Linked DNA regions of Homo sapiens: region 1 is linked to region 2. The links are contacts of gene promoters, found by promoter capture Hi-C in blood cells and fetal thymus (Javierre and others, 2016). All regions are on one chromosome and are shown on one strand. Each heading gives the region's core, a stretch centred on a gene start or on the middle of the fragment in contact. The rest is flanking DNA. Distances are from core to core; before and after follow the strand shown.

Evidence for each region. Contacts are between HindIII fragments. The CHiCAGO score rates a contact against its expected background, and 5 or more counts as called.
Region 1: a fragment that was not itself captured here is called in contact with the fragment with the promoter of LRMDA in region 2 in 1 of 17 cell types (M2 macrophages); the score reaches 6.2 in M2 macrophages.

The regions. Positions count from the first base shown.
Region 1 is chr10:75,649,482-75,652,754 of GRCh38, reverse strand. All of the region lies in intron 2 of LRMDA (leucine rich melanocyte differentiation associated), which reads right to left. Among named protein-coding and RNA genes, the nearest start is that of MIR606, 99 kb to the right of the region's middle. The HindIII fragment of the contact is 2,340 bases long and covers 208-2,547 here.
Region 2 is chr10:75,430,214-75,433,262 of GRCh38, reverse strand. It overlaps LRMDA (leucine rich melanocyte differentiation associated), which reads right to left and starts at 1,639. Exons shown (of 7, transcript NM_001305581.2): 1 at 1,509-1,639. The coding sequence starts at 1,538. It overlaps LOC107984293 (a long non-coding RNA gene), which reads left to right and starts at 1,653. Exons shown (of 2, transcript XR_001747703.2): 1 at 1,653-1,741; 2 at 2,953-3,049. RefSeq lists enhancers at 830-1,330, 1,331-1,831 and a silencer at 1,590-1,689. The HindIII fragment of the contact is 4,872 bases long and covers 1-2,806 here.

The DNA of each region.
Region 1 (3,273 bases), core at 128-2,627, 220 kb before region 2:
GGACAGATAGAAGAAACACACACACACATCCCCCAGAATACATGTCTGATAGACCCAGATATGGCATCTCCCACTGACTCCCTCAAAGGAACTCACCGGAAGACACTGCAGCCGAGGACAGTGGACTGTACATTTTATGAGAAAGTCAGTTCTAGACCCAAAGATTAAAACAAAGTACAGGCAGCTCAAAACCCAAGAGGGAAAGCTTAATGCTTCACAGAACTATTCACAGACAAGTTTAAAGAAGAAGCAGTTTATCAGACAAAATAGTTCTGCAAAGCACTGTGATATAGTCAGAAAAACAGCTAGTTCCCAACTAAGTTTATCTGCCCTGACAGCTTCTGTCTTGGCCTGGCAGAGGCTGAGTGTCTACACAGTGAACATAAAGATAACCTACAATGGCTACACATCCCCATCCATTTGCCAAAGGTCACTAAGGATTGAGCATTTTGCTTCAGTGCCTCCACTAATCCAAAGACATGCCAATCTGCTTACTGTTACACAACGTCAGGAGGTTTGGATTTTACTTATCGAGGGATGTCGGACTTGCTTTGTCAGAACTTGGTGGCTATTAGCACAAGGCTGAGTGCCCATGGCTGCAATGAATTTTTTAAAATTATCTGGTTTTAGGATGCCCAGGAAAGAGGACCTGACTAACAAGATGGTGGTAACTATTGTTGGACAACATTTCGCTTTGAGAACATAAAAGCCAAATGGTGAAGCAATGAGAAATTAAATTCATGGCCTGGAAAACAAGCCAAGATTTTAAAATGTCATGTTGATACAGTAGGTGCTCTTGAGAGTGGGGTAGAAAAGATGTCAGGAACTGGATTGATTGCATTTTCATAGCAATACTGTGTGATGGAAGTGGAGAAGTGTCAAGTCTATTGGTACCCTTAAGTGCTTTAGGGGCTCATACCATATCTTTCATCAAAACCCTATACAATGTAAAAAACCCACCATCATATAGCTCAATGTGCTCAGTCACCAAGGCCTACAAAAGACTCTTCCCATAAAAGCCTAAGCAAGATTGGCTGGGTCCTTATGCCTTCCTTTTGGGCCACCGGGAGGTGCTGTTAACAGCAGCATGGCTCTCAACTGACAGATAACTTGGAAAGATAAAGGTGACTATATTCCCTCTTCTAACACAGCTTGAAAATCTCCTCCTAGTACGCCTAAGCCAACATGATTTGGCTTATACACAGATCCTAAGAGGAGCTAATATTTTTCCTTGAGTGTCCAGAGAATGGATGAATAAATGAGCTTGTTGTGAGAGACCACAACACTTCCTATTGACTTCCAGCTGCAGCCTAAGAAGACTGAAATGCACAGAAATCCCTAAGTGGGAGAGTATCCAAGGGCTTATGACAGTGTGCACAGTCTTCAGGGCTGAGCGATACCCTCAAACATAACCCTTTAGAATCACATTTTCTGCCCAGATCCTAGAGCATGGAAGCAGCTTTCTTCTTGAGCCCAGGTTTCGGGACTCATGGATTTACCTCACAGCTCACTGGTAGATGAGGTATACATGATTGGTGCTTAGGGATATATCCTGTCTCTTGCCATACAGCAACATTTTGGCATAACAGCACACAGAGTACAGAAACCTCACTGTGAAAATATACACAAGGCAAGAAAGAAGGAAGACACGGGCCTTTCTAGGGCTAACAGAGAAGAATGTCAGGAGAGAAAAAGACAGAGAAGATCAGGTAGAAAATGGTGGAGAGAACATTTTGGGCCAAGTGTTTTTTTTCTCTTTTCACAACAATGTGAATGACACAAAGAGGCTTCCCTGACCTGAGGAGAGAGTAGGCTGCCCTTTGATGCTGGGGCGACCATCTATAATGCTGATGAGAGTTCTCTCTGGCCCTGTTTGCCCACCATGGGGGCTCATCCTTTGACCGCATCCTCACCCCGGTGCTGACCTCCAGTTTAGTCATGGGACTGCAGGAAGAAGGGTCATCTGAGGGTCAGGAAGATGGTGGCCCTCACACTCACCAGAAATCTGAGCCTTCCAGTTAGAAAAGGGCCCTCCCTCCCTTTCCTTTTAAAGACTTGAAAGACCATTCCAAGTCTGTTTTCTCTGTTGACTTTAAAATCGCCAATACTATCACCTTTCCTTTTCAAAAGTTGGGCAGAGAGGCAAAGAATTGTGGTTGTGACCTGTTCCAGGGTCAGAGCCAAGAGTAGACCCTGCATTGCAACTCCTATCTAGCGGTCTAAATGTTTAAATTCTGCTATCTCTCAACCTTATCATGAAAAAAAAAAGTCAATAATTTAATGGGGGAGACAAAAAATAATTTTGTTATTAAAAGAATAGAGAACCTAGAAATAACTCTTGCATAGATGGTCAAATGATTTTGACAAGGTTACTAAGACAGTCTTTACAACAAATTGTGCTGGAAAACTGGACATCCACATGCCAAAAAAGTGAGTTGGACCCTTACCTAACACTATCTACAAAAATTAGCTCAAAATGGATCAAATAACTGAGCATTTAAGAATGAAAACGATAAAACTTTTAGAAGAAAACATAGGGGGAAAGCTTCATGACACTGGATTTGGCAATGATTTCTTGGATATGACACCAAAAGCACAGGCAACAAAAGAAAGAAAATAGACAAACTAGACTTCATCAACTAAAATCTTGCACATCAAAGGACACTATCAACAGAGTACAAAGGCAACCTATGGAATGAGAAAATATATTTGCAAATCACATATCTGATAAGGGATTAATACTCAAAATAGAAGTCCTAATGCTCAACAATAACATCAACAAAAGAAGACTCAATTCAAAAATGGGCAAAGGACTTGAATAGACAGTTCTCCAAAAACATATGCATATGGCCAATAAGTACATGTAAAGGCATTCAATATGACTAATCATTAGGGAAATACAAATAAAAGCCACATGAGATGCTACTCATACTCACTGAGATGGCCATCATCACACACACCCAAACAAAAAGAAGAGTTGGCAAGGATGTAGAGAAATCGGAAAGTTGTGCAGCTGCTATAAAAAACAATATGGCAGTTCCTCAAAGAATGAGAAATATAATATGACCCAGCAATTCCTCTTCTGGGTATACACCCAAAAGAACTGAACAAAGAAACAGGAAGAGATATCTGTGCACTAATGTTTACAGCAGCATTATTCACAGTAGACAAAGACAGAAGTGGTCCAAGTCTCCACTGATGGGTGAACAGATAAAATATGGTATGTACATATAGTGGCATTATTTGTAATAGCCAAAAACTGGAAATAATCCA
Region 2 (3,049 bases), core at 390-2,889:
CCCCATGAACTTGTAGCAAGGTACACCGGGAGAACACCAAATCTGAAACGCAGAGAGACCTAGGGTCTGGGGGGCAGGGAACCCTCCTTCTTAGGTAGATACTCCAAGAGAAGGAAAAGACCCTCTTGTCCAGCCCCTCCCTCCAGGCAGTAAATTAACTCCCAGAAAAAAAAAGCCCCTTTCCCCGATGGCTGAACAAGACCCGTCATTTTTAGCCTCTCCGCAGGCTGTTAACTCACTTCTGAACTCTGGTCTTTCTCCAGCTCTCTCCTCCCAGGCTGTGGGTCAAGGGACAGAGCCAGCATTCCTGAGCAACAAAACTGTTAAATGGGGGGTGCACAGAGACAAAGGAAAGGCTAATTTCCAACAACACCTGGCATGGTGCCTGGCATACAGTAGGCACTCAATAAACATGTGTACCTGATGAAACGACAGGACTCTGGAAAAAAAGAAAACAGGCAGCGGCTAGTTTAATGGGCTGCACAGTTGGCCCTCACTGCATCTGTAGGAGCTGTAAAAACCCCTAGAATCTCCTCTAAGGAGGAATCATTCCCTTCAGCCCAAAGTAATCTCAAAATCCAATTGTGCCTGACACTACCTGCCTTAGGCAATCCAAGAGGAGAGCTTCAAAAACTCAGAACTATTTCTCCAGGGTGTGCAGGGAAAGGTGGGAAGTAAGAGGGCTCTGGCTTCATCAGAGCAGAGAAGAGGTTAAAGACAGAGAACTGGCTTTTCCAGCAGGTAAGAAAGACACCTGGTCCCAGAGTGGCTGGGTTCATCCCTCCAACAATGAACACCTGAGGCTTCACTACAGAGCTCAAAGCATGTGAGACTGGGTGTCTGGCACCCAGGATTGAAACTGGCGTGTTGCCATTCATCACAGACTCCTGTTCAAGAAATCGAGTGTGGAAAGAGAACTGGAGGTCGGTGGCCTTCCATCAGCCTTTGGCTATGGCGTAGCCCATTCAGCGCAGGGCCCACCAGCACCCTCATCTCCAGGGATGTGCTGGGACTTTGGGTACCCTAGACACTTTTGCCTTCATAAACCCCTTCCTCCATTTACAAATAAGTAAATTTGTATATTACAACTGCATTGGTATAAAGATGACTATATCAATGTGATTTATCAAAATGGATTCTTTGACCAAAAGTTTTTAAAATTCAGATTATGAAATTGGAACATTTTCTGTGGGCCCCCAAAAGCAGCGGGGGCCGTCAGCACTGTGTCCGCTGGGCCTGCTCAGTGAGGCGCTAAGGGCAGAAGGAAGTGGGGAGAACGGGAGACCTTGCGGGTGTTCTTCCCGCACATCAAGGGGGTGTGCCAGGCCCGAAACGAGGTCTGTCCTAGCCCCACTAGGGCGAGCCTGAGCACCTGAAGCTCACCCCCTGCAGACGCAGCCCCCTGAGGCGGGGACAGGGGTGTCTAGGCCCTGGGGAGCCTCTGTGCCCCGCTGTCCCTCCCCACGCGGACTGCGCCCCGGGCGGAGGCGGGGCTGGCCGGGACTTACTTGAGTTCCACGCACCACGAGCCCGGCCATGGCGGCCAGGACGCTGCGGGCGCGCGGGACGGAGCGCGGGGGCGCGGCGGCAGCAGCGGGGAGCGCGGCAGGGGAGCGCGGCGGGCGCACAGTTCCGCACTGGGCAGTCAGCTGACCCGGCGGAAGCCGGAGGCGCGGGCTAGCCTCGGGGACCTCAGCTCCGCCGCTCGCCGCCGCCGCCCCTCGGCCCGGTCTCCGCGCAGGTGAGCCCTGGCCGCCCGCTGCAACAGGTGGCCCGCAGCGCCCCGCGCCCCGACGGCGGCCTGACCCCGACTGCCCGCGCCCCTCCCTCCCCCGGATGTCCCAATGCCCAAAACTCCATGCCCACAGCTTTATCGCGTTTGTCTGGGCCACGCCTGAGGTGGGGGTATTCCTATCAGGGGCGCCCTTTCTGAGCCGTTAGCCGGGCTGTAGCCAGCCGGGCCTTTCCTGCATTTCGCAAGCTGGGTTACATAATGGACCTCAACTGCAGCGAGGAGGGGCCTCTTGGCTGAACGCCCCTCCTCATCAAAGCTGGGGAGAGGGAAAGTTAGAAGGTTGAAGGACTCCTGGTGCGGCCCAGTTTCCATTTGTAGGAGGGGAGGGGGATTGGGGGGGTTGAATTTCCCTATAAATAAAACGCTGGCTTGGTGAAGACCACCCCACCCTTTCCCTGTGGCCTCTAAGAGTTGACAATAATAAACCCTGGGGAAGGATAATTGGCTGGTGACCCCAAATTTCAGGCTTCTCTTCTCCTGCTCCTCAGAGGGCAAGAGATTTGTGAGGCTTGAAGTTATCAGTGGGGTTATTCGCTGTTCCCCACCCACCCCATCCCCACCTGGAAGAGCTGGCCACGGGCCTCCTGTCTGGATGAAAGTAGGCCCAGTGGGCAGGTAACTCCCTAAACCCATGCCTGTTTTTCTCTGAAATTCTCTGGAAGGATCCAGATTTTCTCCTTGCCTATTCTTGCCTCCAAGTCCAGGATGCACAGAGCTACCAGATATCAACTGGTTGTCATCTTCCACTCTTGCTGCAGCTAAGAGCCAGCCCAGCCTTAACTGGCATCGTCTCTCAGACAGCCCCGGTCCTAACACATTGTTAGGTGGGCCCTTGTCAGCATTTTGATGAGCAGTGTTGATCTCGGAGGGTTGACCTTCCTGCCCCTCTCTCAGCTGGGAGGAGCAGGCTCAGAAGAGTAGAGCAGTAAGAATGCAGTCTTGACTGTGTTTACTTTGGGGGATTCCAGGAAATGCTGCAACAAAAGGTCCTGCAGGCCAAAAAAGAAAGCTTACCCTCCAGAGATAAGGGGATCAAAGGGAACCTTCCCAGGCCTGTTGCCCCAAGGACCAGCTCCCCCGCCTTCTCCCTCCTTCTCTGCTGGACGCGCCCTCTCTGGTCCATTGTGCACTTTTGTCTGCTTTTCCTGCCTGAAAAGGAGGAAGTGAGCCCGGACCCAGCCAGCACTCTGCCCTCCGCAGCTGCCTTTCAGCTCAGCTTTCCTAGAAGGGCTTTGACAGATGGAAGAGGACTTG